Linked DNA regions of Homo sapiens: all the other regions are linked to region 1. The links are contacts of gene promoters, found by promoter capture Hi-C in blood cells and fetal thymus (Javierre and others, 2016). All regions are on one chromosome and are shown on one strand. The core of a region is centred on a gene start or on the middle of the fragment in contact, and the rest is flanking DNA. Distances in the headings are between cores, read along the strand shown. Region 1 holds the start of FAM131C (family with sequence similarity 131 member C). Region 2 has its middle 17 kb from the start of UQCRHL. Region 3 overlaps FBXO42 (F-box protein 42). Region 4 overlaps FBXO42 (F-box protein 42). Region 5 has its middle 3.4 kb from the start of CPLANE2. Region 6 overlaps FBXO42 (F-box protein 42). Region 7 has its middle 7.2 kb from the start of ARHGEF19.

Region 1 (2,759 bases), core at 168-2,667:
CCCTTCCCCAGCCGGGATTCCACCCCGATACCTCCCAGAGACATCCTGAGCCACTTACCTGAATGCCCACAGGAACTCCTGAGCAGAAGCCCTTCGAGTCCAGAGGATGGGGGAAGGTCATTGTGCTCCTTGCTCAATACCCCCAGGACAAGGTCCCCTCTATTCTGGGTAAGCTACTAGGGGTGATGGGTGTGGTGGTGGTCAGTGGGTTTGGCCTCAGCCTGCAGAGCCTGAACCAAGGCCAAAGCCACCCCCACTCCCAGTCACACCCCCCTGATCCCACTGTGGGGTGAACAGACCAAGGTGGGAGAAGGGCTCAGCCCAATCGCTTGTCTAAAATGTTGCCCAACAGCCTGTTGGAAAGCTGGTGGTGATGGGTGGGGGTGGAGGTAGGGGGCTCCAAAGACCAAACTGCCCATCCCCCAATCTCTGTGCAAGACTGTGTGTCCCCTCCTCACAGATAGAAGAGGCTGGGGCCTGCCCTGGGCCCCCAGGCAAGGGCAGGTCCCCTCCACCTCCTTGGGTACCACGTGGGGGAGAGTGGAGGGTGACAGGTCAGACACAGAGAGAAAGGCCCAGGGGTAACTGGGAACATCAGCTGTGCTCTGGCCCTTCTGTCCCCTGTCCAAGGATGGGGGTGGGGAGGAGGATTAGGGGGCAGGGGAACCTTCTTTATAACCTGTGCCCCACCATTAACCCTTTCCTGCCAACAGGGTTCAGGGGCTCTGCAGATGGGGGCACCCGGTAAGACGTGGGAAGGGGCTGTGGGGGTGAGCTGGTAAGACCTGTGTCTTGGGGAGGGGTGGGAAAGGGAGGGTCTGCTAGTTCTCCCGGTGCCCGCAGTTCCTCCGGGAAGCCAGGAAGAACCAGAGCTGGTTCCCAGGCACCCGGCAGGGGGTGTGTGGCTGTAGGGATGAGAGCGCGGCACGGCACGGGACCCTGCTTCGTGTCACCTGCGGGGCTGCAAACTGGGGCGGGGATGCGGTGACCTCTGCACGTGCGCTCTCTGCGCTGCCCCCGCCCCCTACCGTCCCTAGCTCTGTCCCCCTCAGGACGCCGCGTCCCCAGGGGTGCGGCGGGGCCGTGAAGGGCGGGTCGCCAGCCCCATCCCCCAGGTCTCCGAGCGGCGAGGGGACTGCGCGGGTCCCCGGCACCCGATCCCCCCGCCCCCGGCCGGGCCCCCTCACCTCGCGACACGCAGGAGCCCATCACGGGGCCGCGGGGCCGGGCCGCTGCGCCCGGGGTGCGTGGGGCCGCGGGGCGTTCATGTCTCCGCGGGCCCGGGGCTGAGCGCTGCGGAGCCAGAGGACGGGCGGGGCGGGGGGCTCGGGCGCCCTCAGCTCGGCCTCAGCTCCAGCCTGGGTCGTCCCTGCTGCCGCCGCGCCCGGCTCGCCTCGCGCCGCCGCCTCCCGCGCAGTGCCCGCCGCTGCCAGGGGAGGGCGACACCGCGGGGCGCGGCGGGCGGGGCCCGGGGGAGCGCAGCCGGGAGGCTCGGGCACACCTGTGGCCGCAGCGCGCGGGAGGGCCATCTCTGTCCCTTCGGGGCTCCCCCACCTCCTGGGGTTGCCCGGGCTGAAGGTCAGGGAAGGGGACAGAGGGGGCGGGGAGACTCCTGGCATTTGGGGCACAAAGTAAACAACATGAATTTAACCACACCAACGACGACTGGGCACGAAGGCTTGGGAGCGAGGAGGGGTGCGCGCAAGAACAACAGTTCCATTGGGCCTATTTTTAGAGGATGAAAGTGAGGCTCGCAGAAGTTAGAGGCCTTGCCTGAGAGCCCTAAGCTGTGAGTTCAGCGACTTTTGACTGTCAGCGCCTCATTCAGAGCTATTGAAATTAACATATGCAAAATAATATATGCCCAGAGGTGGGGTAGAGAGAGTGCGGGTAGATAGTGCGCTGGTGGCCTGGCGGCGGGATGAAGGGTCTCCAGCGATGGTTGAAGAGGGGGGCAAGGCTGCCTCTCAGGGCTTGTCTAGGGCAGAGTAAACTGAGGCACAGGTTTTTTTCCCCAGCCCTGGACGGCCTCTGTAGTCATTCACACTTACTCGCACGTACCTACACACACACTCTCCCATGTGTACATACCCCTCATTCACACACTGATGGTCATACACACACATATATATGCACACTTGCATTTACATACACGCACACACACTCACATACCTACACATGAATACACAGTCTCCCATGTGTACATACCCACTCACACCCACACAATGACAGTTATACACTCACATTGAAGCACGCTTGCATTTACACACACACACACACACACACATCCCAGCTCCTGAGGTGTGAAGATCCTTTAGCAAAATTTCCCATGCACACAGCACTCAATGTCAGTGTCTGAGACCCTCACTCACACATAGCATCTCGCTCTCTCCTTCATGCCCACCTGTGCATCAGGCAGGGCAGGCACTCTTGTGTCTGTTTTCCAGTTGAGGCAGCCAGGTTCACTGGTGGCAGCAGAGAAATGTTTTGAAGAATGAATAAGGAGGGGCCAGGCGCGGTGGCCCACGCCTGTAATCCCAGCACTTTGGGAGGCCAAGGCAGGCAGATCACTTGAGGTCAGGAGTTCGAGACCAGCCTGGCCAATATGGTGAAACTCCGTCTCTACCAAAAATATAAAAAATTAGCTGGGTGTGGGCTTGGCACAGTAGTTCATGCCTGTAATCACACCACTTTGGGAGGCCGAGGTGGGCGGATCACCTGAGGTCAGGAGTTTGAGACCAGCCTAGCCAACATGGTGA
Region 2 (2,832 bases), core at 20-2,519, 250 kb before region 1:
AATAGCTATTAGGCATAAATGTTGCAGGATAAAATATACATGATACTTTATATCTGTATTTAATCACATGTTCCAATAAAGAATGATAAAGTAATACATTGAAAATACAAATTGGCCAAGCACAGTGACTCACGCCTGTAATCCTAGCACTTTGGGAGGCCCAGGTGAGTGGATCATCTGATCTCAGAAGTTGGAGACCAGCCTGGGCAACATGGAGAAGCCCCATCTCTATCAAAAATACAAAATATTAGCCGGGTGTAGTGGCATCACCTGTAGTCCCAGCTACTCAGGAGGCTGAGCCGGATGATTAAAAAAAGAAAATACACATTTTGACTTGTTTTTTTTTTTTTTTTTTTTTTTGAGTGGGAGTTTCACTTTTGTTTTCCAAGCTGGAGTGCAATGGTGTGGTCTCTGTTCATTGCAACCTCTGCCTCCTGGGTTCAAGCAATTCTCCTGCCTTAGCCTCCGGAGCAGCTGGGATTACAGGGGCGTGCCACCATACCCAGGAAATTTTTTGTGTTTTTAGTAGAGATGGGGTTTCACTATGTTGGCCAGGCTGGCCCTGAACTCCTGACCTCAGGTTATCCACCTGCCTTGGCCTCCCAAAGTGCTGGGATTACAGGGGTAAGCCACCGAGCCTGGACTTGACTTTTGATTATATTTATCAGTACATAGAATTCTGAAGGTGAGCTGGGTTGGGTGGCTCATGCCTCTAATTCCAGCACTTTGGAAGCCCGAGGCAGGCAGATCACTGGAGGTCAGAAGCTCGAGACCAGCCTGGCCAACATGGCAAAACCCCTTCTCTACTAAAAAACACAAAAATGAGGCTGGACGCGGTGGCTCACGCCTATAATCCCAGCACTTTGGAGGCTGAGGTGGGCGGATCACGAGGTCAGGAGATAGAGACCATCTTGGCCGACATGGTGAAACCCTGTCTCTACTAAAAATACAAAAATTACTTGGGCGCAGTGGCACGTGCTGGTAATCCCAGCTACTCAGAAGACTGAGGCAGGAGAATCGCTTGAACCTGGGAGGTGGAGGTGGCAGTGGGCCGAGATCACGCCACTGCACTCCAGCCTGGTGACAGAGCTAGACTGTGTCTCAAAAAAAAAAAAAAAAAATTAGCCGCCTGTGGTGGCGCATGCCTGTAATCCCAGCTACTTGGGAGGCTGAGGCAGAAGATTGCTTGAACCTGGGAGGCTGCAGCTATAATAAGCCGAGATTGCACCACTGCACTCCAGCCTGGGTGACAGAGGAAGACTCCGTCTCAAAAAAAAAAAATTTATGAAATTCTGAAGGTGGAGCTTGACCCCAAAGTGATATATCTGTTTTCCTTTTTTTCTTTTTTTTTTGAGACGGAGTCTCACTCTGTCACCCAGGCTGGAGTGCAGTGGCACGATTTCAGCTCACTGCAACCTCCACCTCCTGGGTTCAAGTGATTCTCCTGCCTTAGCCCCACGAGTAGCTGGGATTACAGGCATGAGCTACCACGCCCAGCTAATTTTGTATTTTTAGTAGAGACGGGGTTTCTCCATGTTGGTCAGGCTAGTCTTGAATTCCAGACCTCAGGTGATCTGCCTGCCTCAGCCTCCCAAAGTGCTAGGATTACAGGCATGAGCCACCGCGACCAACCTTAATATTTGTATTTTATTAGAGATGGGGTTTCACCGGGTTGGCCAAGCTGGTCTTGAACTCCTGACCTCAGGCAATCCACCCATCTCGGCCTCCCAAAGTGCTGGGATTACAGGTGTGAGCCACCGTGCCCAACCCACGTTTTCAAATTAAGCACGTAGACAATCTTTTTATTTCACTGTTGTTCACTGGGATGTGGTAGAACTAGAGCAGGGTCCAATATGGGGGAAGAAAGTCTTTTAAAAAGAAAATTATGGCTGGGTGCGGTGGCTCACGCCTGTAATCCCAGCACTTTGGAAGGCCAAGGCAGGTGGGTCATGAGGTCAGGAATTCGAGACCAGCCTGGACAACATGGTGAAACCCCGTCTCTACTAAAAATACAACAATTAAGCGGGTGTGGTGGCACATGCCTGTAATCCCAGCTACTCAGGAGGCTGAGGCAGGGGAACCACTTGAACCTGGGAGGCAGAGGTTGCAGTGAGCAGAGATCAGGCCACTGCACTCCAGCCTGGGTGACAGAGCGTGACTCTGTCTCAAAAAAAAAAAAAAAAAGTAAAGAAAAATACAGCCGGGCACAGTGGCTCACGCCTGTAATCCTAGTACTTTGGGAGACAGAGGCAGCAGGATCTTTTGAGCTGGAGTTCTCCCAGCCAAGAAATAATTTATTATTCATGTTATCATGGAGCAGATATGAGGGTAGAAGGAGACCACATCCTGGGAGTGTAACAATTCCTCCAGAAGCCCTAAGGTTTTGAGTTCCCTCTTGCTGCACTGACCCAGGAACTTCCTAAAACAGAAGGTACTTTCCAACATCACAGTCTCTGGCATCTTCCCCTCTAAGCCTCACTGTCAGACTTTTCCAAAGGTCATACTTACTGTTTTTTTTTTTTTTTTCTTCAATCCATTCCAATCAAGCTTTTGCCTCCTACTCCACCCAGACAGCTTGTGTCAAGGTCACCCATGACTTCCACTTATTCATACAACACTCAATTTTCATGCCTCAGCTTAATCTCTCAGCAGCATTTCATAGTTGACCATTCCCTTCACTTTTTTTTTTTTTTTTTTTTGAGACCGAGTCTTACTCTGTCATCCAGGCTGGAGTGAAGTGGTGCGATCTCGGCTCACTGCAACCTCCGCCTCCCGGGTTCAAGCAATTCTCCTGCTTCAGCCTGTCGAGCCAGCATTCCTGTGCGTCACCAT
Region 3 (2,850 bases), core at 184-2,683, 180 kb after region 1:
CTTGGCTCACTGCAATCGCCACTTCCCAGGTTCAAGCGATTCTCCTGCCTTAGTCTCCCAAGTAACTGGGACTACAGGTGTGTGCCACCATGCCCGGCTAATTTTTGTATTTTTAGTAGAGATGGGGCTTCGCCATGTTCGCCATGCTGGTCACAAACTCCTGACCTCAGGTGATCCACCCACCTTGGCCTCCCAAAATGCTGGGATTACAGGTGTGAATTAGGCACCTGGTCCCTAATTCACTTTTAAACCTGTTATTCCCAGGAGTATTTACCTTCAGGCTCATATGGAGCAAACCAAATGTACTTACATTTGCCGGGATCCTAAAGAGCCACCAAAGACAATCATTTTATCATCTATCACACAGGAGGAGTGGCCAGCCATGGGAGGTGGCCCATGGGTTGTCACAATGCAGTTCCACCTAATGTAAAAAGACAGGAGGAAGTCAAGAAGTCAGCACCACACACTTTATGTAAAAATAGTAAGTAGGCATCCATTTAAAATGATAATCCTATCACTTTCAGCAGAGATTTGTTGGGATAATAAGTAGAGGATGGCATAATGTATTTATGCCTTTCCTACAAGTTTGCTTAAAGTTATCTTCTTTCAAGTTCTGAATGTAAACGGTCTGGAGGGAGAGAGATGAGAAAACGATGACAAGAGACAAGATCATGGCTTCTTTGGCCTGGTTTGCTGACAAAGCACCACCTGCCACCTGCTACCTTTCCCTATGGTCCTGATCAGTAACAGCTAACAAGCGCCACGTACTAAGTCTTCCATTACAAGAAACGGCGGTTGCTGTCATTAAGAGATATATGTTTGAAAAACAATTCAGAGTAAGTCTTGGAGACACAGTTAGGAGTAAGGAATCATCTGGATCTACAACACTCCTGGAGTGTTAGCAGCCAAAGCTGAAGAGCTCGCTGTTCTTCAACTGGCTCATTCATTTTTCTTGAAAGAGGAATAAATCTCTTCTATTTTTTCTCTTTAGAATAAGGATTCTAAATGCAGGGTTCTAAGAGAGTCCTGTAAACTCTCTGAAACTGTTGGTAAAATCTGTGAATATGTGCATTTTTCCCCTCCTGGGAAAAGAGTCCACAGCTTTCCATCTAATTCTCAAAGGGACTCTTGACACAAAAAAACAAAGAATCCACTGATTTAAGGCCTTTTCTTCCAGATTTAAAGAGTTTATCTTTGTGACTTACCAATTTTTAGAGGGTGAGTAAGTGTGTATTTCATCAAAGAATCTCTCTGGCTGGTGTAGGGGATAAGGGCTTGGCCGCGTCCAGCCACCAAACAGCACTAGCAAGTCCTTGTACACGACCAGAGTTGCTCCAGCTTTGGGGGAAGGATAGGACCCTAGGGAAAGTCAGTAACACCATGGTTAGCATTCAGGATCTCACAACAATCCGTAGTTAGGCTATCCATAGATCACCTTTCCCTGGAAGAGCAACAAAAGGGGAACTAATACTACAAAGTGTAGAGGAAAGGTGGAAAGAAAACTGGGTTTGAGTCTGAGAGAAAATCATCACTAATTCACACGTCTTTTATTATTAACAGAGAAATATGAGTTAGAGAAAAGTTACTTAGCCTCTCTCATGTTTATAATTTGCTCACCTAAAATTAGGGATGAGAGTACCTATCTCATAAGGCTGTTTTGAGTATTAAATAGTATATTCAAAGCACCTAACATAATGCCTGGCACATAGAAAGTGCTCAACAAATGAGCACCCCTTCCCATCCCTTTAACAAACTTAACAGAGGTCACAAAGAAAAGAAAGAATGTAGAGGACCAGGGAGAAGTATACATAGAGGCTGGATGTCTGGATGCAACTTAAAAATAACTCGTTACAAAACACAGGTAAGAAAAGGAGGCAGGAGGCAGTTCTTATTTGTCCCGTGAGTCAAATTTTAACATAGGGACCTCCAGGCCCCTAGCTATGGGCTTCACATAACCAGATAGCCTCAGCCTAGCACAAATGGGGCAGACCTTCAAGGATTGGTGTGAAGGAATTCCAGTGAAACCATAAGTCTTACACCAAACACCATCTAGACTGGACCTCTGGGCTACACTGACCAAATTCTGAAAAAAAACACTTTGGCTTATGCTGGAAAACTTTAGAGATAACAAATGTCTTACAGGAGCATAATTTTTCAAAATCTATTGTCTTTGAAATAACAATTGCTATTTTTCCCCATCCCTCACTCTACATGTCACCTTTAGTTTCCTCAAGACCAAAGTAACTTGTCCCAATATCCAGGTGTCAGTAAATACCAGAATACTTTTTTTTTCCTTTGGAGGTGGAGTCTCGCTTTGTCACCCAGGCTGGAGTGCAATGATGCAATCTCGGCTCACTGCAACCTCCACCTCCTGGGTTCAAGTGATTTTCCTGCCTTAGCCTCCTGAGTAGCTGGGATTACAGGCATCTGCCATCATGCCCAGCTAATTGTTGCATTTTTAGTTGAGATGGGGTTTCACCATGTTGGCCAGGCTGGTCTCAAACTCCTGACCTCAGGTGATCTACCCGCTTTGGCCTCCCAAAGTGCTGGGATTACAGGCGTGAGCCACCATGCCTCGCTGAGAATACTTTTTTTTTTAAAATCTTTTTTTTTTCTTTTTGGTTAAAGCTGCAGGACTCATTTTTCAAAGGATATCTTAAGCAGAAGAAATCCCAACACTACATTAACCTGACAGCAGTCGAGATGCTCCAATCTAGGTGGAGAGCTTTGCTTCCTCTTTCAGTAGCACATTACAGAACACTGTTTGAAAAGCCCTGCTCAGACTGCTTTAATGGTGTCACTTACAAAGTCTCAAGGTTGAGAAGGTAGAGCAGAGGACTGTCTTTCTTG
Region 4 (3,093 bases), core at 450-2,949, 220 kb after region 1:
CCTCACTCTTAGTCCAGTGCCCTTTCTAATATACAATGATGCCTCCTATCTGGTAATCAAAGTAGTAAGGCAAGGCCTAAATAAATAAGGAACTTGCCCAATGGAAACCCAAATGTCCTTAGTCCTAAGACTGAGTCCTAATACTAAAAAGCCAAATGAATGTTTTGGGAAAAGCTTGCCAAAAAATCTAGCAGAATACTTTATACTCAGTGGACACTATTTCTCCATCACACCAACCCCTCCAATCTATGCCTCCTCAAATTGCCCTGCCTCATGAGTGCAAAAACCATTGTTTTTATTTTTTCCCCCAGGAGAGGTTAGGTCAAAAATAAGAAAATAATCTAGTTTCTTTCTGCCAGATTTCTGGCATAGTGGGACTGGGTAGGAATGTACCTACTGTAGAATCTTCCCACACCCCTGGGTTGTTAAGAGTAACTAGCAGAGGCACGTCCCATACACTCCCCAAATATCTGAGCTGGCAACAACAACAGATATTCAGAGACCTTAGCCCTAGGACAATAGCTTCTGTCAGTCAACTACAGTTCTCACGACTCTGTGTTTCTGTTCTTACTTCAACCTCCTACCAAATGATGTATCACACCTGTATGAGTATACTTGAGAAAACCATGCAAATGAATTCACACAGCAGTACAGCAATTTTGGCAGGGCACCATTACTAATGATAAAGTATAATTTAACAAAAAACAAAGACTTACACAAGCATATTACTATTATCATTTACATGGCACATTAAACTTAAGGACCTGAGTCCCAGTAACCCATCCTTGAGACCAACACCAAAAATGATCAGGTAGAGTTTCCATGCCAAGGGAGTCACCTGGTAAGGAGGCAAAGATCAGCATTTCATCTCTTACCTGAAGCCAAAGGTCGGATCCACTCTTTGCTGTTTAGGTCAAGTCTCCAGAGGTCATTGAAAGCAGCATTGCAGCTGCTCTGGGTACAGCCTCCAAACACATACATAGACTGATTAGCATCATAATAGCATGCACCTAGAAAGAAAATACACAAATAACTGCTGTGAAAATTCTGAGGCCCTTCCAACATTTTAACCATAACATATATTTTTCAAAGCTTATTTCACACATTCAGCAATTTTGTTACCAAGTACCAAATTTCTATTACCAGCCTCTTGTCTCCAAGTGGATCAATATATTACCCTTTAAAACAAGGTCCAGAGGAAAGCTATGAAAATTTTATTTCTGAGCACACTAAGCAAGTTGACAATGATGTAACAGTGTAAGTCCAGCAAGAACACATAATAATTCACATTAAAGGTGCTCAAATGAGGGAAATTTCAGCACAGCTACATAATTGATCTAAATCTGCATCATTATCCTCTAGAGCTAAGCAAAGGTATGCCAACACATGTACTCTGTCCTCCCATTCCTTTCCTCCAATTCTCCTATTGTTTTTGTTTTCAAATTAAACCTGAAGCACAAATCAATAAATGAATCTTTTTTTTTTCTTTCTTTCTTTTTTTGAGATGGAGTCTCCCTCTGTCAGCCAGGCTGGAGTGCAGTGGCATGATCTCGGCTCACTGCAACATCTGCCTCCCAGGTGCAAGCGATTCTCCTGCCTCAGCCTCCCAAGTAGCTGGGATTACAGGTGTGCACCACCACACCCAGCTAATTTTTTTGTATTTTTAGTAGAGATGGAGTTTCACCATGTTGGCCAGGCTAATCTCGAACTCCTGACCTCAGGTGATCCACCCGCCTCGGCCTCTCAAAGTGCTGGGATTACAGGCATGAGCCACCATGCCCGGCCAATAAATGAATCTTTATATGACACACAATGAAATGATTTTAATCAATACTATGAAGTAACCACACATAAAGTCCAATGTGATTGAAGAAATACAGTTTTTATTAATTCCAAAGGCCAGTGGGGGAAACTCAATAGTAGTATGGTCTTGGACTAGTCCCAAAGCAACAGATTGAAAAAGCATGGAAATCATTAAGTCCCAATATGTATCCAAGAGCTACCAAGGCATGCTGGTTGGAGCCGACTAGAAAACAGAACGGTAACATTTAAAAAACACCAGGATCTCTAAAAAAAGCCTTCTTTGATTAGATGATTGTATACACATCACCAGGCATTCCTAAGAAAAAGAGGCAATGACTATCAGAAGGGCTGTTACCCAAAAACTACAAAGACCAAAGCCAGAGTCTAGAAAAGATGCATGAGTGCTAAGTTCTGCCCCTTGCGGTCTCTATCCTTTGGAAATGACGATCACATTCCTTACAGTCTTGCATTTGCCATCTTGGATTTCAGGAAGAGGCCCAAGCAAAGCTTTCCTTGCCATCCATTTCATGCACGCAGGAGGTAAAAATAAAATAAAATAAAATTAAGTAAACAAAAAAGACTTCTCAATGTTCATGTGAAACTAACGGTTCAGTGTCATATAAAAGGAAGGGGAAAGGAAAAAGAAATTCACAGATTCAGGCCAGGTGCAGTGGCTCATGCCTGTAATCCCAACACTTTGGGAGGCTGAGGCAGGCGGATCATGAGGTCAGGAGTTCGAGACCAGCCTGGCCAACATGGCAAAACCCCGTCTCTACTAAAAATAAAAAAATTAGCCAGGCGTGGTGGCGCATGCCTGTAATCCCAGCTACTCAGGAGGCTGAGGCAGGAGAATCGCTTGAACCCGGGAGGCGGAGGTTGCAGTGAGCCAAGATTGCGCCACTGCACTCCAGCCTGGACGACAGAGCAAGACTCCATCTCAAAAAAAAAAAAAAAAAAACAAAAACAAAAAACACCAACAAGAAATTCACAGATTCATTGCCCTGTGCATGGCTTTAATGATCATCTAGCATATTTGTAGGTCTAATTCAGTTTAGCACACCAATATTTTTAAGGTCTCTTCTGAACTCTGGCACTAGTTACCCGAGTTCAGAAAAAGGGAAATGCTACTACTGTTGACTCATCCAATGCCACTACTATAATCACCTCTGTGATACACACTATACTAGCTCTGGGAATAAACTCCCCCCTCCCCCGCACCCCCCACCCCCCGCTTTTTGTTTTTTTTGAGACAGAGTCTTGCTGTGTGGCCGAGGCTGGAGTCCAGTGCCA
Region 5 (2,930 bases), core at 403-2,902, 170 kb after region 1:
ATGGCTGGGCGCGGTGGCTCACGCCTGTAATCCCAGCACTTTGGGAGGCTGAGGCGGGCAAATCACCCGAGGTCAGGAGTTCAAGACCAGCCTGGCCAACATGGTGAACCCTGTCTCTACTAAAAATACAAAAATTATCTGGCTGTGATGGCAGGCGCCTGTAATCCCAGCTACTCTGGAGGTTGAGGCAGAAGAATCGCTTGAACCTGGGAGGTGGAGGTTGCAGTGAGCAGAATCATATCACTGCACTCCAGCCTGGGTGACAGAGCTGAATAAATAAAATTATGTATTCAGTGGAAGGCTGATCAAGGACTCAAAAGAATGCAATCTTTTGTCTCCTATCTACTTTTTTTTTTTTTGAGACAGAGTCTCACTCTGTCGCCCAGGCTGGAGTGCAGTGGCACAATCTCGGCTCACTGCAACCTCTGCCTCTGAGGTTCAAGTGATTCCCCTGCCTCAGCCTCCCAGGTAGCTGGGACTATAGGCATGCCCCACCATGTCCGGCTAATTTTTGTTGTTGTTGTATTTTAGTAGAGACGGGGTTTCACCATGTTGGCCAGGATGGTCTGGATCTCCTGACCTCATGATCCGCCCACCTCAGCCTTCCAAAGTGCTGGGATTATAGGCATGAGCCACTGCACCTGGCCTTGTCTCTTATGTATTTCTAACCTGGAAGCCCCTGCTTCAAGCTGTCCTGTCTTACCAGACCAAACCAATGTACATCTTACACATATTGATTGAGGTCTCATGTCTCCCTAAAACTTAAATGCAAACTGTACCCCTGACCACCTTGGGTATATGTCTCAGGATTTCCTGAGGCTGTCACGGGCACATCCTTAACCTTGGCAAAATAAACTTTCTAAATTGACTGTGACCTGTCTCAGATATTTGGGGTTCACACATCCAACCCCGACATTCTGTGTCAGGGGCTGGGTAGGTCTGTGAGCCTGCAGATTTGACAAAAGCACTAGGCAGTTCTGAAGTTGGGGTCTATATGAGTCAGCCCAGGCTGCTGTAACAAAAATACCACAGTCTGGGTACTCTAAACAACAGAAATTTATTTTCTCATAGTTCTAGAGGCTGGAAGTCCAAGATCAAGGTGCCAGCAGAGTTGGTTTCTGGGTGGGGCCTCTCTTCCTGGCTTACAGATGGCCTCTTCTCTGTGCTTATACATGTCTGGTGTCTCTTCCTCTGTTACAAATAGGACATTAGTCCTACTGGATTAGGGCTCCATGCTTATGGTCTCATTTAACCTTGATTACCTTTTTCTTTTATTTTTTGAGACAGGGCCTCACTCTGTCACCCAGGCTAGAGGGCAGTGGTGTGATCTCAGCTCACTGCAGCCACGACCTCCTCAGGCTCAAGCAATCCTCCTGCCTCAGCCCCGAGGGGAGCTAGGACTACAGGTGCATATCAGCACGCCTGGCTAATTTTTTTTTTTTTTGTATTTTTGTTTGTTTGTTTGAGACAAAGTCTCGCTCTTGTGCCCCAGGCTGGAGTGCAATGGCGCGATCTTTGCTCACTGCAACCTCCATCTCCCAGGTTCAAGTGATTCTCCTGCCTCAGCCTCCCAAGTAGCTGGGATTACAGGCGCCTGCCACCACACCCAGCTAATTTTTGTATTTTTAGTAGAGACGGGGTTCTACCATGTTGGCCAGGCTGGTCTTGAACTCCTGACCTCGGGTGATCCGCCCGCCTTGGCCTCCCAAAGTGCTGGGATTACAGGCATTAGCCACCATGCCCGGACTTTTTCTTTTGTATTTTTTTAGAGGTACGGTTTTGCCTTGTTGCCCAGGCTTGTCTCAAACTCCTGGCCTCAAGTGATCTGCCTGCCTTGGCCTCTGAAAGTGCTGGGATTACAGTCATCAGTCACCATGCTCACCCTTCATTACCTTTTTTTTTTTTTTTTTTTTTAGTCTAGATGAATTTATTGCCATTCACATATTTCATAGAAAAAAAGATGTAGCAAATGGGTCAGGGTTGTACCAAAAAAATCCAGGTTTATAAGGTTGCTCTATTTACATCTGAGAGCAGGGCTGTCCTGGCATCAGGCACAGCAGCTGCAGTTGTCCGACGTCCCTTTGCAGATGCAGCCCTGGGCACACTTGGCACAGCCCACAGGGCAGCAGGAGCAGCAGCTCTTCTTGCAGGAGGTGCATGTGCACTCTTTTCATTTGCAGGAGCCGGCACAGGCGCAGGAACCATCAGGCGAGCAGGAGCAGTTGGGGTCCATTTAGAGGCAGGGAGAAGCAGGAGTTCCTGATCAAGAGGCAAACACTCAGCGGGACAGATGAAAAGCGTGCCTTAATTACCTCTTTAAAGGACCTATTTCCAAATATGGTCACATTGGGGGCTAGGGCTTCAATGTATGGATTTGGGTGGAGCAGGGCATAATTCAGTCCATAACAGGGTCCACAGACCTCATGTAAACACTGCTGCTGGGCAAAGGAGGCCAGCTGACTGTTGGGACCTGAAAGTGACATGGTTAGAACTGCGTTTCAGAAGGACGCTTGTGGACCGTGTTGGTCTATGAGTTCTGCTCTCCTGTGCCCCTCTGACCACTAAACTATGTGTCCCCCTAAGCCAGCTGCTTCTCCTTTCAGGGCCTCAAGCAAAACATGTAGAACATCTCCCTAAGGACTCTTCTAGTCTAGAGCCCTCTGATTTTTTTTTTTTTTTTTTTTGAGACAGAGCCTTGCTCTGTCGCCAGGCTGGAGTGCAGTGGCATGATCTTGGCTCACCGCAACTTCCACCTCCCAGGTTCAAGCAGGTCTCCTGCCTCAGCCTCCCAAGTAGCTGGGACTACAGGCGCATGCCACCACGCCTAGCTAATTTTTGTATTTTTAGTAGAGACAAGGTTTCACCATGTTGGCCAGGACGGTCTCAATCTCCTGACCTCGTGATCTGCCCGCCTCGGCCTCCCAAAGTGC
Region 6 (3,127 bases), core at 385-2,884, 200 kb after region 1:
CTACAGAAAAGAGGAAATTATCAGGGGCACAATTTATTTGAAAAGTAGAATCAATTAATGCATAGTACATCAGGTGCGATGGCTCATGTCTGTAATCTCGGTACTTCGAGAGGCCAAGGCAGGGGGATCACTTGAGGCTAGGAGTGCAAGACCAGTCTGGGCATTACAGTGAGACGCTGTCTCTACAAATAATAAAATAAAATAGCTGGGCATAGTGGTTCATGCCTGTAGTCCTTGCTACTTGGGAGGCTGAAGCAGGAGGATCGCTTGAGCCCAGGAATTTGAGGCTGCAGTGAGCTATGATGATGCCACTGTATTCCACTCAGGGACAAAAAGCTAGACCCTGTCTCTTACCCAAAAACAGAAAAGGAAGAATAAAAATAAAAAGCCATAGTTCAAGAGTTCATCTCCTCAAGGGGGAATGAGAAATAGCTTCTGAGTTTTAAAAGGACAAAGGAGGCCAGGAGTGGTTGCTCATGCCTGTAATCCCAGCGCTTTAGGACGCTGAGGTGGGTGAATCACCTAAGGTCAGGAGTTGGAGACCAGCCTGGCCAACATGGCAAAACCCCGTCTCTACTAAAAAAATTAGCCAGGCGTGGTGGTGGTACGTGCTTGTAATCCCAGCTACTCGGGAGGCTGAGGGAGGAGAATTGTTGCCAAGAACAGCCTTGGCAACAGAGTGAGACCCCGTCTCAAAATAAATAAACAAAAAAGGGCAAAGGAGCCTCCTAGAATTCAAGGTGATATTTATAAGTCAATAAACGACCCATCACAGCTCTTACCCACCTAGGAACAGCACATCTCCTCACAGTTATGAAAACTGGAAAACTTGGCAGGGTGCGGTGGCTCACGCCTGTAATCCCAGCACTTTGGGAGGCCGAGGTGGGTGGATCACGAGGTCAGGAGATCGAGACCATCCTGGCTAACACGGTGAAACCCCGTTCTACTAAAAATACAAAAAATTAGCCGGGCATGGTGGCATGCACCTGTAGTCCCAGCTATTCGGGAGGCTGAGGCAGGAGAATGGCGTGAACCCAGGAGGCAGAGCTTGCAGTAAGCCGAGATCACACCACTGCACACCAGCCCGGGCGACAGACCGACACTCTGTCTCAAAAAAAAAAAAAAAAAGAAAAGAAAAGAAAAGAAAACTGGAGAACTTGAGAAACTGGCCTGATCCTAATTACATAGAAACTAAACAGCCAAACATTGAGCACGAGCCATGAATTGGTCCATGGCACTACCAAGTGTCCTTGAAACCAAGAGGGTCATTCCTGGGAAGCAGAAGTTAGAAATGACTCAGGGATAGTATCTTGCGTTCCTCTCCCATTTAGAATTAGCCTCTTATAACTACATTTAGGACATAAAGTTAATCTATATAGCATTGGAGATATACAAGGATAAGGCATCATATGAAATGAAATTTATTGTGGTAATAAAACATGAAGTACTGTTAGGAGATTACATGGATACCTGAGAATAAGAGAAACAATGCTAGATGATTTGAGACTTTTACTCCATGGGGGAACCCAAGAGTAAACAAAAACTGTCCAGATGGTAGGCAGACAGGATCACAGCATGTAGATTTGAAAGCTGAGAATTCTAAGAAATGTCACTGCTTATTTTCACTGACACTACTAAAATAAGAAGGTTTTATTTTAGATGGTTTTAAGAAAGAATAGAAAAGTCTCATGAGTTTGACCCAATGACTACAAGTTAAAGGAGGCAGGATTTTCAACATGGAGGAGAAATAGCTAAGGACAGATATTAATACATTTTGGTAATAAATACATTTGGTAATCAAGGAAAGATCTGTGAGTAGAACTGGATTGTCTCATTCACAAACAAAATACTAAAACAATGAGATCAATCACTCGTTTTTAAGACAGAATAGAAGCTAGGAGTATATTTGAAAGGCACGTGTGTCCTCTTGTTATACTGTCTGATATTCAGCAGTTAATCATCATCCACTTCTTCCCCATTGCCACAAGATTTGGCATTCTCCTAACACATTTGCATATTATAATTTTAAAAATGTATAAAGTGCTTAGTGCAAAACAATATTAAAAAGCAGAATCGAATAGTGACAAGCACATTAATACATCATTCTTTTTTTTTCTTTTTTTCTCCTCCCTGCCCCCACTACTAATATATTATTTTTAAAAATTCCATATCCAGGCTGGGCATGGTGGCTAATGCTTGTAATCCCAGCATTTTGGGGGGCCGAGGCAAGCGGATCACTTGAGCTCAGAAGTTTGAGACCAGCCTGGCCAACACGGTGAAACCCTATCTCTACTAAAAATACAAAAACTAGCCGGGCGTGGTGGTATGCACCTGTAATCCCAGCTACTCAGGAGGCTGAGGCAGAAGAATTGCTTGAATCCAGGAGGCGGAGGTTGCAATGAGCCGAAATTCGCCACTGCACTCCAGGCCGGGTGACAGAGCGAGATTCTGTCTCAAAAAAAAAAAAAAAATTAAAAAATTCCACATCCAGGCTGGGCGTGGTGGCTCAGGCCTGTAATCCCAGCACTTTCGGAGGATGAGGCAGGAGGATCACTTGAGCCTAGAAGTTTGAGACCAGCCTGGGCAACAGGGCAAGACCCTGTCTCAACAAAAAATTTAAAAAATTAGCTGGGCTTGGTGGCATATGTCTATAGTCCCAGCTACTAGGGAGGCTGAGGCAGGAGGATCACTTGAGCCCAAGAGGTCGAGGCTGCAGTAAACCATGTTCGTGCCACTGTACTCCAGCCTGGGTGATGGAGTGACACCCTGTATCAAAAAATAAATAATTTTTAAAAATCCACATCCAGGCCAGGCGTGGTGGCTCATGCCTGTAATCCCAGCACTTTGGGAGGCCGAGGCGGGCGGATCACCTGAGGCTGGGAGTTTGAGACCACCCTGACCAACATGGAGAAACTCCATCTCAACTAAAAATACAAAATTAGCTGGGTATGGTGGCACATGCCTGTAATCCCAGCTACTCGGGAGGCTGAGGCAGGAGAATCGCTTGAACCCGGGAGGCGGAGGTTGCAGTGAGCCGGAGATCACGCCATTGCACTCCAGCCTGGGCAACAAGAGCGAAACTCCATCTCAAAAAAAAAAACAAAAAACAAAACAAAAAAAACCACAT
Region 7 (3,180 bases), core at 339-2,838, 150 kb after region 1:
TGGCAGGCAGGGAGTGTCAGGCCCGGGGCCACCTCCCCTGTTGTGCCAGGCCCCCAGGGGCCCCACTCATGCCCAGGGCACACGCTGCTGAGCGACTGCTCCTCCATCCCTGGGTATTCATCAAACAGGCCCTGACACTTGATGAGCTCATAGTCCTTCCTTCTCCCAGTGCTGCAGCTCCTGCCCGATCTGGGTGTCCCTCTGCCCTGCCAGCTGCCACTTCTGCCACCAAGCCTTCCGTTTCCTGGAGGCAGGGCAACCAGATAATGGTCATAACAGGGCCTTGTGCTAGGAACTGCCACTTCTATCACCAGCACCCCTTAGAGGCAGGCACCATGATGATTTCCACTGTATTGATGAGGAAACACACCTGGAGAATTTGGCCCAGGCTCCCCAAATTGTAAGTGGTGGAGCCAGTGTTCAAATCCAATCTGTTAGACTCGAGTCCAGTGCTCTCAACTCTGCACTTCCCACATAGTCATTCTTGGTCTCTGAAATATCACTGCCCCCTGAAAAAAATAGTAATAGAAAGCCCTCCATTTGCAAAGCTGTTTCCTGTTGAACGCCTCATAATCCCCTCAACTCTCATGGAGAGGTATTATTGTCTCCATTGTACAGATGACGAAACTGAGGCCCAGAGAGACACAAAGCCACGCAGCTTACAAGAAGCAGGGCTAGGACTTGTGCCCGTATCTTCTGTCCCAGTAAAGGGTTTTTCTGCTCTGCTCTTATAAAAGCCCTCCAAATGGCCTGATTAGGCCCAGCCTTGTCCCCCGTTCTTCCCCCAACACTCACAGCCCAACAAATTCTTCCATGTGGTTGAGCAGCTGTTTGCCCACCATGATGATGATGAGCTGCTGGGTGACCTGAATGTGGCAGCCACCAGGACCGCACTGTTGTTGGCAGACACAGAGCACCTTACTCAGGGCTTTGGGGCTGCATAGGGGTTACCCCACCTCCCTGCTGGTGCAGAGAGTTGGCCACCTGCTCCTCCTACCCACTTTGGAGGCCCCAGAGGCAGATCCTACCCCTGCCAGACCTGAGGTTGTGATGACTACCCCCTAACCCCCCAGAATCAGCAACCCAGGGGTACATAATCACATCCTCACTCGGCATGCTGAGCAAATGTGCCATACTGACCGGGGTATCCCACAAACCTGAGGGCCCCCTGCATCTGTGGGTAATTTGCTCTCCCTCTCTGGAGCCAGGCTGCAGCTAAACTCCATGCTGAGGCTGACCCCCTCTCCCCACTGCTCCTGGTCCTCTGGCCACCCCCTGAATTGACAGCTAACCCTGCTGACAGAGCTGATGGGAGGCCTTGCCTACCCTACTAGGCCCCAGAAGTCTGCTGGGACCATGGCCTGAATCTATGTACTGCTCAACCCATGATCAGCCAATGTGGCATTTATGGCCCAGGAAGATGGGGTCATTGTGCTGGGGAGTGGGCTCTTTTGGTGACCATCCCTCCCATCCCATCAAATGACAATGGCAATTACACAATAACAGCACCTCCTGAGAGTCCAGCATTTTATGACTCCTAACCAGATCTCATTAAAGACTCAATGCTTCTAGGAAAAAGGACCAGCTCTGATTCATTTCTGTGTCCCTAGCATCCAACCAAGGGTGCACAGCAGGAAGGCCCCCAAAAGATGGTGATAAACTCAAACTGCAGCATTGGGAGGTGGCATTGTCAGGCCTGGGGCCACCCAGTGAGGGCTGTAGGACAGACTGAATGCAGGTGTTAGATTTTACAGCTGTGCAATGGTGTACCCATAAATTACAGTTGCTAAGACTTTCGCCCAGGGAAATCAAGAACCAGCTTCAAGGTCCATAGCAAGACCTGGCTAGGAACAAATCTGGAGCCCAAAGGGTGCTGCTGCTTTGCTGGGCTGCTTCCTTGGGAGGCGACAGCCCTAAGGCTGGGGTTTGGGGAGTGGTCCTTACCTGCCTTTGAAGAATGCCATGTAGAAGGGAGAAGAATAGAAATTGACAAACTGAAAATGAAAGTGAAGGCATTTTCATGGAGGCATCTCTGGACAAAGGGCAGAGCTGGTCAGAATTCTATTGGGCGCAAGGGGGCAGGCATAGCCCATCAGGTCAGCCCCTATGCTCCTGTCCTTAACCTACCAACCCCTAATGCCAGCCATGTGTCCCTGGCCACTCTCGCTTGAGGGTGACTGGAGACACCAGACTCCCAGTTCCCAGATGACACAAAGATAGCCTTGCAACACATTACCTGGTTTTAGAGGAAGAACAGGCCAGGCACGGTGGCTCACACCTGTAATCCCAGCACTTTGGGAGGCTGAGATGGGTGGATCACTTGAGGTCAGGAGTTTGAGACCAGCCTGACCAACATGGTGAAACCCCATTTCTACTAAAAATACAAAAATTAGGCGGGTGTGGTGGGCCATTACCGGGAGCCCATCCATTGGTGGGATGAAAAAAACCTGAAGATGCCCACATTAGGCCTGGAGCCTGGAACAGTGCTCTCACCCTCCATTGCCCCAAAGGACATTCGCTTGGGTCATGAGCACAGAGTTGCCAGTGTGGAACATTGCAATGCTGATGATGCCATGGTAAATTATGACAGATACCAGGAAAATCATCACCACACAGAGCTGGGGGCCAGGAGAGAGGGCTGTCAGAGCTGGAGAGTGGACTGCCAGGGTTCCAGTGCACCCACCCTGGAGGAGCCAGTCCTTCCAGAGCAAAGGCCCAGTGTCCCCTCACCACAGTGAGGATGGCTGCAGAGCTGGTGAGTAGGTGGGAAAGGCAGCTGTGCGGTTGGAAGTAGGGCTCCTTCAAGCCTGTCACTGGGTTCTGGGTCATCTGCAGGGCCAGGGCAGCAAACTGTAGATGTGGGCACTCCTATCACAGGGGGCAACAGAAATGTGCATCCTAGGGCCAAGAGGCTGGTGCCATGATCCTAGGCTAGGGGAAGCCCCCCACCTTTTCCTGACTGCAGAGGGAGCTCTGGAAGTGCAGCAATGGGTTCTAATTCATTTTTGGTTTTGCAGGACCTTTTTCCCCAGGGCATGGTTAAAAGCATGTGGATGGATGGCTAGATGGATGGTGGGTAGACGGAGAAGTAAACAGCAAATGAGTGGACATGTGGAAAAGGGATAGATAGACAGATGAGTGAGCAGGCAGTAGGCCGACAAATGGGCAGGTAAACTAGGC

The links. Contacts are between HindIII fragments. The CHiCAGO score rates a contact against its expected background, and 5 or more counts as called.
Region 2: a contact is called between a fragment that was not itself captured here and the fragment with the promoter of FAM131C in region 1, in 1 of 17 cell types (activated CD4 T cells). The highest score is 5.8, in activated CD4 T cells.
Region 3: a contact is called between a fragment that was not itself captured here and the fragment with the promoter of FAM131C in region 1, in 14 of 17 cell types (naive CD4 T cells, fetal thymus, naive CD8 T cells and 11 more). The highest score is 15.8, in naive CD4 T cells.
Region 4: a contact is called between a fragment that was not itself captured here and the fragment with the promoter of FAM131C in region 1, in 5 of 17 cell types (endothelial precursors, non-activated CD4 T cells, naive CD4 T cells and 2 more). The highest score is 7.9, in endothelial precursors.
Region 5: a contact is called between a fragment that was not itself captured here and the fragment with the promoter of FAM131C in region 1, in 15 of 17 cell types (naive CD4 T cells, endothelial precursors, activated CD4 T cells and 12 more). The highest score is 25.7, in naive CD4 T cells.
Region 6: a fragment that was not itself captured here is called in contact with the fragment with the promoter of FAM131C in region 1 in 9 of 17 cell types (naive CD4 T cells, naive CD8 T cells, endothelial precursors and 6 more); the score reaches 8.1 in naive CD4 T cells.
Region 7: a fragment that was not itself captured here is called in contact with the fragment with the promoter of FAM131C in region 1 in 13 of 17 cell types (endothelial precursors, naive CD4 T cells, M0 macrophages and 10 more); the score reaches 14.2 in endothelial precursors.

The regions. Positions count from the first base shown.
Region 1 is chr1:16,072,234-16,074,992 of GRCh38, forward strand. It overlaps FAM131C (family with sequence similarity 131 member C), which reads right to left and starts at 1,418. Exons shown (of 7, transcript NM_182623.3): 1 at 1,188-1,418. The coding sequence starts at 1,209. RefSeq lists a silencer at 1,313-1,472 and an enhancer at 1,681-2,180. The HindIII fragment of the contact is 12,659 bases long and covers 1-2,759 here.
Region 2 is chr1:15,823,506-15,826,337 of GRCh38, forward strand. No RefSeq gene overlaps it. Among named protein-coding and RNA genes, the nearest start is that of UQCRHL, 17 kb to the left of the region's middle. The HindIII fragment of the contact is 2,551 bases long and covers 1-2,545 here.
Region 3 is chr1:16,255,401-16,258,250 of GRCh38, forward strand. FBXO42 (F-box protein 42) reads right to left here. Exons shown (of 10, transcript NM_018994.3): 5 at 1,206-1,359; 6 at 311-421. Among named protein-coding and RNA genes, the nearest start is that of CPLANE2, 20 kb to the left of the region's middle. The HindIII fragment of the contact is 4,911 bases long and covers 1-2,850 here.
Region 4 is chr1:16,293,908-16,297,000 of GRCh38, forward strand. It overlaps FBXO42 (F-box protein 42), which reads right to left. Exons shown (of 10, transcript NM_018994.3): 4 at 876-1,010. Among named protein-coding and RNA genes, the nearest start is that of FBXO42, 57 kb to the right of the region's middle. The HindIII fragment of the contact is 1,218 bases long and covers 1,091-2,308 here.
Region 5 is chr1:16,239,166-16,242,095 of GRCh38, forward strand. It overlaps the pseudogene MT1XP1. Among named protein-coding and RNA genes, the nearest start is that of CPLANE2, 3.4 kb to the left of the region's middle. The HindIII fragment of the contact is 5,672 bases long and covers 1-2,930 here.
Region 6 is chr1:16,275,269-16,278,395 of GRCh38, forward strand. The region is part of intron 4 of FBXO42 (F-box protein 42); the gene reads right to left. Among named protein-coding and RNA genes, the nearest start is that of CPLANE2, 40 kb to the left of the region's middle. The HindIII fragment of the contact is 3,464 bases long and covers 1-3,127 here.
Region 7 is chr1:16,218,270-16,221,449 of GRCh38, forward strand. It overlaps the pseudogene ANO7L1. Among named protein-coding and RNA genes, the nearest start is that of ARHGEF19, 7.2 kb to the left of the region's middle. The HindIII fragment of the contact is 4,750 bases long and covers 1-3,180 here.